Regions from separate parts of the Homo sapiens genome. Here all the other regions are linked to region 1. The links are contacts of gene promoters, found by promoter capture Hi-C in human tissues and cell types (Jung and others, 2019). All regions are on one chromosome and are shown on one strand. Each heading gives the region's core, a stretch centred on a gene start or on the middle of the fragment in contact. The rest is flanking DNA. Distances are from core to core; before and after follow the strand shown.

The links. Contacts are between HindIII fragments. The study calls those that stand out against the background at their distance.
Region 2: a fragment that was not itself captured here is called in contact with the fragment with the promoter of DCLK1 in region 1 in 2 of the 25 tissues and cell types used here (dorsolateral prefrontal cortex and mesendoderm cells).
Region 3: a fragment that was not itself captured here is called in contact with the fragment with the promoter of DCLK1 in region 1 in 4 of the 25 tissues and cell types used here (dorsolateral prefrontal cortex, mesendoderm cells, pancreas and 1 more).

What each region holds. Positions count from the first base shown.
Region 1 is chr13:36,129,562-36,133,517 of GRCh38, reverse strand. It overlaps DCLK1 (doublecortin like kinase 1), which reads left to right and starts at 2,136. Exons shown (of 17, transcript NM_001330071.2): 1 at 2,136-2,404. The HindIII fragment of the contact is 11,041 bases long and covers 1-3,956 here.
Region 2 is chr13:36,015,363-36,019,318 of GRCh38, reverse strand. The region is part of intron 3 of DCLK1 (doublecortin like kinase 1); the gene reads left to right. Among named protein-coding and RNA genes, the nearest start is that of DCLK1, 110 kb to the left of the region's middle. The HindIII fragment of the contact is 4,629 bases long and covers 1-3,956 here.
Region 3 is chr13:36,035,448-36,039,403 of GRCh38, reverse strand. The region is part of intron 3 of DCLK1 (doublecortin like kinase 1); the gene reads left to right. Among named protein-coding and RNA genes, the nearest start is that of DCLK1, 94 kb to the left of the region's middle. The HindIII fragment of the contact is 7,729 bases long and covers 1-3,956 here.

The DNA of each region.
Region 1 (3,956 bases), core at 887-3,386:
TCTTATGAGAATGAAGTAAGAAAATGTATGAAAGCCCCCAGCATGGCAAAAAGCAAGCACTAAATTAATGGGAGCCACTGAGAGAGTTGAGGCCTAGTCATTTTCAACCTGTAGGATATAGAGCTGTGTCTGCTTGGGGCGGTAGTTGGGGTACAGCTTAAATAGCATTTGCTTTTGGGAGCTAGAATGAGATCTCCAATACTTTCAGATGATCCTGGGGGAAAGGATGTATTAGTTCCATTCACTTCTTTGATCAATATCTTAGTAATATAAAGGAAGTAGCATTCGTTTTTGAAAATTACTTGAATTAGGAGTTTTCTAGTTAGATTTCATTTCAATAAGGAATTATTGTTGAATATAAATTAGATTTGCCAAATGCTTAAGCTGCCCTGGAATGAACTTTAGTACCAGCCTGCTGTCCTGGACTAAATGATATGACCATACTGTAGGGCCAATGTATACTATTTAATGTCTTCATCTACTTAATTATCAGTTGCCCCCTGGTTTCCTTAAAGAGCTAATGATGCCCAACTATTTCTAGTGAGAGCACTTTGCTACTGAGAGAGTCAAACACCAAGGTGATTCTCTGAACACATTATCTGTGTGTGCTAGGTACAACAGCTAGGAAGAGGTAAGATGATGGTGAGTTACTTAAAGCTCTTAAGAAATGACCCTAGTAGAATATCCATAGGGGTTAAGAGATGAAATTTATTTCTTGGCTTAGCATTTTGGAAGAAATCACTTGGCATTTGTCATTGGCAAGATAAAAAGAAGCTCTGATTTCTGTTCTCCAGAAGATGTACTTGGCTTCTTCCTTTCTCTTAATTTACCCCTATGGCTCTCATTTTGCCTCAGAATGTGAAAGAATAGGCTTACTACTTTGCATTTAGTTAATTTGGTGAGTTCACTGTACTCTCATCTCTGGGCTATTAAATAGTTCAAAAATAAATATCGCATCACTTGTGGAATATGTAGCATGGATCTCATTTGAGCTGTGTTTTAAAACAAATGGTAATTATTTAACATTTACATCATACTTGGAAAGTATTTCAGAATAGAACTTTTTAATAATAAGTAGTCAAACACATAACTGGGATCAATGGGCAAGAGAAAAATAAAATTTTAATGTTCCATTGAAAGGTGTAGGCTCAGGAAGAGAGAAAAATACTTATGTGTATTTTGTATACTCATGTGTATTTGGGACAAACACAGGTTGTGGACGACAGGATTGAAAGTCAGATTAACTGGATCAAAATTCAGGCTGCGTACTGAGCCAGTCTAAGATTTCACCGAAATCTGGGAGCTGCTCCCACTCCCTGGACTTTTGTGCAAAGACTGGAGGAAGCTGTGAACAGCCTGGGCTAGGAGAACATTCCCCCTCTGGGAGGAGAGGCTCGCATGAGCTCATGGGGCTTTCCACCGCAGACCCAGCCTTGGCAGCCACAAAGTGTCCAGCAGTGAAACCTGGCCCTTCAGTTCTCAAGGGCCCTTTGGAACATATTTGACTCTAAGCAGAGGTCACTATTCCAAGAGTGACTCATGTCTTGGGGTTAAGTGGAGATGATGGGTGGGATCCATGAACAGATCCAGCTCTTCCCAATGTGGGGGGCACCAGAGTGCATAGCTTGGGAGGGTTGGTCATCCGAAGAGGCACTGCGTGGGTGCATCCCGGGCAAAAAGGATGAGAAGGTGATCCACTGGCTTCCATACCCTGGGAAAGGTGTCAGACCGTGAGGTCACATCAAAAGGTATGAGTGTGGGTACCTCCTTCCCTCCCCCGACGGTGGGGGCCTCATCTCTCGGCCATATCACCTCTGTGCCTTGCACACTTCCTGGCTCAGACTCAGCCCTGTCCACGTTCTCTTCCACCATCTGATCTGCCCCCATCTCCCAAAGACTACTTGTGGGGACTAGGGAGGTTTAGGGGTGTAGTCAAGCCAGATGCACCGAGGTTGCTGCGGTGGGAAGAGGGCGCTGGGAGGGAGGAGGACCTGGGGCGCAGCCGTGGTGGGTGCGCCCTGCCAAGAAGGGCGGGGGCGACGGGGCGCGCACGCGGAGGAGGAGGAGGAGGAGGGAGACGGGAGGGCGTGTGAGCGAGTGAGACAAGAAAAGGGAGCGCGCCCGCCGCCGCCGCCGCCGCCGCCCTCCTCTGGAGAGAGAGGCTGGAGTGAGGCTGTGCGAAGCGCCGCATTTCAATGAGGACGGGCCGAGGCACATCCCTGCACTAGTGGCCGCAACCGAGGCGCCGCGCTCCAGCAGCTGCTGCCGCCCAGCCCGGCCCCGCCGCCGCCCCCCAGCCCTGCAGCCCCGCAGCCCCGGCCGCGCCCAGCCCGGCGAGGACAGCACCAGGAGGCGGCCCCCAGCGCGGCCACAAAGACCCCCGGCGGCGTCTCTCCGCGGACCGGTGCGTGGTTTGCCTTCCCTGGGGACGGGAGCTGCGGGGAGGGCGGCCGGGGGACTCCGCAGAGCCCGCTCCGCCCGCAGCCGCGGGGCGCCGAGGGCAGGGCGGGCGCTCAGCTTGGCCCCGCCGCCCCGCCCGCAGTTCCTCGAAAGGCGGCCGCCCTGCCCTGGCCAGCCTGGCCCGACCCGGGGGCGTTGCGTGCGGGCGGCCCCGGGGCTGCTGGCACCTGCCTCTTTTGTTTGGTGCCATGGGGCTTTAAACCTGGAGTCAGGCGAGCGGGCCCTCCCAGGCTTTTCGCGTTGTTAGTGGAGATGGAGAGCCAGGGCGGAGGAGCTGGGAGAGGTGCTTGTCATTGTCAGAACTGGCTGCGGAGCGGGAACCAAGGAAGGAGTGGCCGGGCCCGGCCTCTTATTGTGTGTGTGCTTTTCCGTGTGCCCGGGCCAGTGATGTGTGCTTGTGGATGGGGTCGATTCGTGCGTGGTGGTGGCTGCAGCGTGGGTGTTGCAAGTACGTTTGCAGGGTCTCAAGTTCCTTCAGGGACAGCGAGGCTGCCTCATGTTCAAATTAGTACCTGCAGTGCTAAAAGCTTGCGGAGAGGAAATGGCATTTTTTCCTCCTAGTGGGAGCGCACGCACAGCCCCGCAATGCCCCACAAAAGAGGCTGCTTTTGAAAACCAGGTTTGCGCGGAATTGCTCCTGGATTTGGCAAGGAGATGCTTGGTCGGTGAGAGAGAAGATGAAAGGTTTCATTCAAACCGGCTCCCTCTCTGCTGCACCTGTGAGTGTGTCCAGGCACGGTGCACACACGTTCAGCGACCACACTGCAGGCTGTTCCGTGAATACATTTTATGACTGTTCCTAAATATATTGCCTTTCAGTGGGAAAGGAAAGTAGGACAGCGTTTTAAGTATGAAATGTCACATGGATGCAGGTCAGAAGGGATTTTTTAAGAGAGGTCATATAGAGGAAAATTATAAAAGATATGCACACACCCTGTGATGTCTACGTCCGTGGTGGTGCACGGGCCTGGAAGGTATGTGTGCGTTTTATTTCATGCCAGTCCACCTGAATCCTAATCCCACGGTTAAAATATGCCTTGGGACTTCCAGGTCCAGCATCTATTTAGATGTGGTAGCATTTATGCCATTTTTTTCTTGGTATATATGTGTGTAAATTTCTGAAACAAGAACCATGTGCTCATCTAGAGAAGGATGAACATAGATTCCTCAAAATGGTGAGAAATCCCACCGAGAACAATCAGGGATGTTGGTTTCTTGAAATGGCAGGATTTATAGGAAAAGCTCTGATGAGAGCCAGTGGCCCTTCTTACCTCCAGTGTCTGTGGTCGCTGTGGCTGAGGTGCTGTGGTTACCATCCTGGTGCCACTGCACATGTGCACTCAGGCCCTTGGCCACCTATGGTCTCTGAACATTGAGCTGTGTGTTCTCGCAGCCTTCCTGTGCAGAAAGTGTAAACCTGTGGAAGGCCAGTGGATCTTCAGAAGCTCATGCATGGTTCAAATGTATGACTAAGCCAAGGTGAGGGAAAGAACACC
Region 2 (3,956 bases), core at 954-3,453, 110 kb after region 1:
AGTTATTTGAAAACTGAGTTCTGTTTTCTACATAGGCTTGGATCTTGGGAATACGGGATAGTTTGTTTTTAATCACAGGAACCATCTTATCAGTTTCTATAATAACTAAAAGAACAAATATGAGAAGGTTAAGGAACAGCTTAATTAAAATGTTGGAGAAAATGACAGAAATAAATTAATTCAGAGAGTGCCTTTGACATTAATCATGGAAAAAATGCATCTCATTTTGGTAGCATACTTAGAAAAAGCAAAATAAGAATAAATTTGCATGCCAATTAGATGCAAAGTTACCACACATACCTCAAGATAAATTTGAGATCCTGAAACAAGCAATTGGGTCTATAATATTTTGTAACATATTCATTTGGATATGTGCGCTATCTGCATTTTTAGTGAAAGAAAATGCATTCAATCAAGGGCCATAGAGAGAGTGCTATCAACAATATTCCAAGTTCTAAACTAAATTGCAGAAGATTGTCTGTGCAAGTTCACTTATAATGTGTATAATTTATATCACAGCAAAGTAAATATGGATGAAAGAAACATTTGAATGAGAAAGGGATACACTTTTAAAATTTTGCCCAACATTTTATACTTTTGGATAGCTAATTTTTTATTTAAAAATTATATTCTTCCATAAATAATTATCCATGAGAAAATCTTTATAGGTAGCCTTATAAAATGTTCACAGTAAATTAACACATTTGAAATCAAAATTAATAGGCACTGGTTGTGTATAAAAGAAGCATACATTTTGATTCATGTAATTTGTTCAATTGAGCAACCATGTAAAAAATAATTATGCTACATTTGTCAGACTCAGTTTGAGGATGACTAAAAGATGATTAATGATTTTGAAACATGCATAGAAAAACATTTTAAACTGATTTTTAGGAATGCTTAAAATAATTATTAACTTCAAGTTATAAACTGCACAAGAAAATTAACTTATGAATTTTATGCCATAAATCAAATTTGCTCCCTTAAGAGAAAAGATTTTTGTTTATATTTAATTGAAAAAAGAAAATGAATCAATAGAAAGGTTATGTACAAAATTGGATTTGTGTATAGGGATGTGTACAAACTGAGTCTATAGGGTACACATGACAATTGGTTACAATTTTACAATCATAATGTGTAGTGTAGAGAAATCAACAGCAGAGGAACCACTCTAACACATTAAGTTCCTTGGTCAAATAAAAGAGATTCTCCTGTTGAATAACAGAATTTAAAACATTTTCAGTGGTAGGCAAGTGTGTTAATCTTTCCTGGCCATAGTGGAAATAAAGGCCGTAGAAGAACTGAGTGATGTTATTAGCAGTGCAAATAGAGTTAAAAATTGCCATCATCTAGAACTGACCTCATGTGCTTGGGAAACTGAATCTTCTCGCCACAGATGGCTCTAATGAGTCGGGAGGATGGTGCTGGGCAGAGGTCAGTGTTGGAAGTCCTTTCTTATGGCAAAGAGTTTGCAGTCTGTGCATGCATGTGTGTGTAAGTGTGTGATGAGAGTTGCAGTTGTGGGATGTAAGAAATAAAATGCGGCTGCTTTTTGTATGGCAAACAGAAAACTAGATAAACAGTAAATTTTGAGATCTGGCAATGATAGGTAAAGAGGGGGCTCTGATAATTCCATGTGGTGGTTGGTGAAGCATTACCCTACACACACCATATTAATGACTAGTTTCAGAGATTGAGAATGCAATTAAATATCTGCTGTAAAATGATATTGAACACCATTTAGTTTTTCATTGATTCTGAAGTCATGTTTGGATCATACCATACCCCAGAGTACTCACTACAACATTAGCTATCGAGTCATACGTTTTTATAGATGTGTTGGTTAAAAGAGAATTCTGGTTTCCCAGAATGTTGGGTATCAAACTATCCCCTGCACTGGATTTTATTTAATTCCAAAGGTTATGGACTTTCCCAGTTGTGTTACATTCTATCTTCATCAGTCTAAATGACATTTTGCTCTTGACATTCTGTTCTTCTGTGTCTAGCCTTGGAGTTTTGTTTTTCAGTTATTTAAGGATATGATCACTTCCTTCTGAGAGGCTGTGAAAATAATTATTCCACGAACAGATCCCGCAGTTTGGAGATACGATCAGTAACTCCAATTCTGTATTAAAAGTTGCTATGATCCTTGTCTCCTTCCTTTTTTATTATTTCTAAAAATGTTATTACCTTTCAAAAAAATACATCTTTGCTTTCACAGGGATTCATGTGTTATTTTATCAAACTGCTTAGTATTCACCTTCTTAAGGTATTATGCAGTTGCTGATATTTTTCTGCAAGGCAAATCGAGCAACCTTTCTCATTTGGTTGGATGTTTTTGTTTGGAGTTGTTCTGTCTGATTTCGTGCCACTAGCCATGTGTAACTTAAAATGAGAGTAGTCTGACTTGAGGTGTGTTGTAAATGTGAAGTACGCACACCGTGTCAAAGACTTCATGCCATAAAATAATATAAAATATTTCAATAATTTTTATACTGATTGCATGTTAAAATAACATTTTAGATTATTAGATTAAATACATTATCAAAATTAATTTCATTTATTTCTTTTTAGTTTATTAATGTGGCTACTAGAACATTTAAAATCACATATGTGGCTTGCATTATGTTTCTATTGTTCGAGGATAAAGAAAATGTGTTCAGGTTGTTGCAGGATCCATGATAAAAACTCATGGGGTCATGTCCTTATTGTATGCTTCTCTCGTGAGATGAATGATAGGGAAGAGGAAATCCAGATAAAAGAAAGTGACTGTTTGGTAATTATTGGCTGTGCTTTTCTCTTCTACCATTATGTGTATGCTCCGTTAGCCTGATTTGCTTGGTTTAATTGCTGGGTTGGGATGGCTTCTTGATGGGGGAGGGAATGGAATCATTGTGCTATTTAGGGCTCCTTTTAATGGTGACCCCTTGACTAGTTGATCATTAATAGTTCACTCATATGACTGGGAAGGATAATGGCAGAAAGGAAATACAGAAAGTTTGTATTAAAATATGGCTAATACAAATATGAGATATGCTGCATTTTAATGTACTGTAGGTTAAATTTGCAAACCTATTCTGTAGAGTAAGCATGTAGCAGTTTGTGTTGCTTTCCATTAGTCTGTGCCTGGGGTTACATGTATAAAGCAGCAGTTCCCCCAGACTAGTGATTCTAGCCATTTGAACACGAAATGTGAATTTTACTGCATAATTGATCTGGTTGTTTATATCAGTATTTCTTGGCAAGACCATCTAAATGAAGTAAATTGTCCATGCACTAGCCTTCTGGTTGCTCAGTAGTTATTACCCAAATAAATATATGAAAGTATTCGATGTCCTAGCCACTGAGTGATTTGCTGGTTAACTGGTTCTAATTTCTAAACCTGTTTATGCTTGGATTTGCAGAAGTGTGACAGAATAAATATGGTCATGAGGACAGTCTTCTAACAAATTGATGTTTTTCATCTCTAGTCTGAATAAATACAATGAGGGCCTGAACTAGTCAGTGAGAGAGATGGAGAAGGCAATTGGATTAAAAAGCACAGATGCAAAATAAAGTCCTTTGGGAATGATCACTGGTTGGCAGGTGTGGGTGGTGAAAGAAAGAAATGGATTCCAGGTAAGCCCTAGATTGGTAGTATGGGCTAATGGCTGGATGTTGATGCCTTTTACAGGGTAAGGGCTGCTTTAGGAGAGGGGCAAGATTGAAAATAGGTTGTGACAGGCTCATTGTTAGGCATGTTGACATCACAGCATCATAGAAGCTCTGGCTGAAAGAAAACTTAAGTTCCATCTAGTCCAATAACTTATGGTAAGATTGGTAGTTTAATATAATAAATATTAAATGCCTTCTGTTTCCAAAGCTCTATGCCAGACACCAGAACTCCCCCATTGGAAAAAATTAAAAAGCTGGCTCATTTGAGGGTTTCCATTCCTAAAGAGCTAGTTTACCCAGGT
Region 3 (3,956 bases), core at 703-3,202, 94 kb after region 1:
TGGAAGAGTGAAACATTTCAGCCAGAATTGCCTGCAGCTCAGTATAGCTCCAATGGCAGAAGAAATCCTACCAGATTATGTCCTTTGATTTTTCACAGATTTTGTTCAGAGGATCTGGCAATGGGTTGCAGTTTCACACTTCAGAAATACATGGTGGCCAAGAGTTATTTCTGGAGTTTTCTTTTAAAGCCTTATCAGTTGTTGAGATTCTCTGTGCTCCTGAATCCATTTCCTACTCATTCCTTACCTGAAATGAGATATTTATATCTTTTCTAAGTTGCTTTTAAATTTGAAAACTGCATCTTCTACAACAGTGACAGATCAAAATGCCAGCTGGACATTTGATAGGATTCTTCATTGGTAGGCGCCTGACGAATGACTACTAAGTCATGTGAAATACTTTCTTTAGTCATAGGACATGGTGCTGTGAATCATGAAATGTTAGACATAAATTTTACACACAGGGGATTACATTCTAAAATGAGTGCTCAAGATCCTTGGCTGTGGAATTAGAGAAACTTCATTCAAGTCTTGAATCTGCTACCTCCTAGATATTTGAACACATTCTTAACTTTACACCTCAGTTTCCTTATCTGCAAAATGAAAAAGAAAAATAGTGTCTAACGCATGAACACTAATTGTTGTAGTATTAAAGGAGGTAACTTTGCTGTGCTTGTCATAGCGCTTAGTAAAATTAAATAGATATTAAGCATTTTCATTATCATGCTGGCATTTATGGAAGACATGCCAGCTACCTACCCACCTACCTGAATAGCATCACCAAATATGTTGCTTCTAAAAGATCAGTTGTGCATAAGTTGCTTAGGAACATGTACTGGAAAAGCCTCTGAGATTATGCATTTGATTAAAACAAAAACAGGTATGTGCCAAAGAATATCATTGCTCCTTTGGGATCTTGACTTAAAGTTCTGCCCCATAGGTACCTCAGTATTCCATCTCTCACTTCTCTTTCCTGACCAAAGCTAAGCTCTAGGCTCTTGTTACTGTATTTGGTTCTCCAGGATTCTCTGCCCTGCCCCTGGGAGGCTCTCATTCCTGTAACCAGGAAGCACTCTGGAAGACCGAACCATCTCCGGGCCTTAAAACAAACCTCAGGGGCAGGGATGGACCCATGGTGGGGACAGTGACCTGTCCTGCCTCTTCATTCACACCCATCTTTGGGAACTGTTACCAGCTTAGCAAGCAAGGTAACAAGTCACTGAGCTTTTATGGGACCCAGCTTCCTTGTTCATAAAATGAGAAAGCTACCAAAGATGAGGTTGATGGTCTCTTGCTTCTCCATTATTCTCTTGGATTCAATAAATTACTGGACATATCTAGGAAAAATAAATGTCACAGTCACCGCCTCCAAGAGGCTTTCTTTGTTCACAAAGTCTTCCTTTTATTACCACTCAGGCTGCAGTGAGCTGTATCTTAAAAGTCTTAATGTGTCTCTGACACATTATAAGCCATACCCATGGAACCTTGGAAGTTCTTTTTTTACAGTAGGGGATTAGATTTTCTTTCTATTTTTTAAATTTTCTTTTTTTAATTGATACATTATCACATACATGTGATAATTAGATAAATTCATATAATGTGTAAAGATCACATCAGGGTGGCCGGGCATGGTGGCTCATGCCTGTAATCCCAGCACTTTGGGAGGTTGAGACAGGCAGATCATCTGAGGTCAGGAGTTTGAGACCAGCCTGGCCAACATGGTGAAACTCCGTCTCTACTAAAAATACAAAAATTAACTGGGTGTGGTGATGCACACCTGTAATCCCAGGTACTTGGGAGACTGAGGCACGAGAATCGCTTGAACCCAGGAGGCAGAGGTTGCAGTGAGCTGAGATCGCACCACTGCACTCCAGCCTGGGCAACAGAGGGAGACTCCATCTCAAAACAAAACAAAACAAAACAAAAACCACGAGAAAAAAGGTCACATTAGGGTAATCGGGATATCCACCACCTTAAATATATATCTTTTCTTTATGCTAGGAACATTAGAAAAATTCTCTTCTATTTTTAAATATGTAATATGTTATTGTTAACTATACTCACCCTACTGCTCTATGGAACACTAGGCCTTATTTATTCTATCTAACTGTGTGCTTGTACCCTTCAATCAACTTCTTTCATCCTCCTCAACCCCTACCCTTTCTGGCTTCTGGTAACCACAGTTCTATTCTCTATCTTCATGAGATCATTTTTTTTTAAAGCTTCCACATATGAGAGAGAACAGGTGATATTTGTCTTTCTGCATTTGGTTTATTTCACTTATCATAATGGCCTCCAGTTCCATTCATGTTGCTGCAGATGACAGGATTTCATTCTTTTTTATGGCTGAATAATATTCCACTGTGTGTGTGTGTGATATATATATCACATTTTTCTATCCATTCATCCATTGATAGAAACTTAGATTGATTCCATGTCTTGGCTATTGTGACTAGCGCTGCAATAGACATGGGAGTGCAGACATTTCTTCAATATATTGATTTCCTTTCTTTTGGATATACACCCAGTAGAGGAATTGCTGGATCATATCATAGTTCTATTTTTCATTTTTTAGAAAGTTTTTTAAGGATAGAGATAATGCTGTTTTTAACCTTCCTAAAGAGCTTTACCAACAATTACATTCAAAATTAACGTATTATTCATTAAAATTATAAATGTATAGTATATAAATGTTTAACATGTATAAAATCTGATAACTTAATATGTAAATAAAATGTGACTTTCTATGTTATATATATCATATATACCGTATATGATCTTATACCTACACATACACACACATATATCCTTTTGGGTTCAAAAGCACATAAAAATATAAGGAGTCATTGTGATTACAATCCGTAGTAAATGGTGGTCTAGTGTTATGTAGAACATCAAGGTATTTATTCGACTTGCCGTTCAAGGAGTCCAAGAAAAAACATACCACACTGACACAGGACAGGCAAGCCCCCAAACTGGGGCTTAGCCCCAAAGGATTCCTGGCTTTGCCCAGGAAAGAATTCGAGGTCGAGCCGGTGGTGTTGGACAGCAGGGTTTATTGAAGCGGTAGAGTGCACAGCAGCAGCAGAGATGCTGCTCCTTGAGGAGAGGGCTACCTCTTAGGCAGTGTGCCCAGAGGAGCAGCTCAGAGGCAGTTCTGCAGTCATATTTATACCCACTTTTTATATGCCAATTAAAAGGCAGTTTAGGCAGAAACTTCCAGGTTGTGAGGTTGTTTCCATGGAAAGGGGTGGTAACTTATGGGTGTTATGGCAATGGTAAACTGACATGGCACACTGATGGGCATGTCTTACGGGGAGGTGCTTCCACCCCAGCCTTTATTGGTAGGTGCTTCTGCCTCTGTTTTAGCTAGTCCTCAATTTGGTCCAGTGTCCAAGTCCTGCCTCCAGAGTCTAGTCCCTCCTCCTAGCTCAATATCCATGGAAATATTATCTATTTGGATAATGTTGTTATCTTTATAACTATCACAGTGTGGCCAAGAAGAGAGATAACAGAGGTTAATCTCTCTGATACCTTTTTTAAGTAGTATATAATTCAAATTGCCCTAAAACTTATGTTGATTATAATTGACCAGTGCTTGTCTAGGAATTGTAAGGATACCTAAAAAAGTATGTACGTACTTTTGCCAGTGACAAAAGTAACAACCTGAATTCCTTTTGCAACAAAATTATATCAGCACAAGCCAGCATGGTGGCTTTTGCCTGTGGTCCCAGCTGCTCGGGAGGCTGAGGGAGGTGGATCACTTGAGCCCAGGAGTTCGACGCTGCAGTGAGCTAAGATTGTACCACTGCATTCCTGCTTGGGCAACAGAGCGAGACACTGTTTTCAAAAGAAAAATTACATAAGCACAGACTGGATGTTAAATAAATAATTAGATTCAAGCTTTAAATTATTTGGACCCTTTCCCCCCAATACTACTTAATAGCAATATAAAC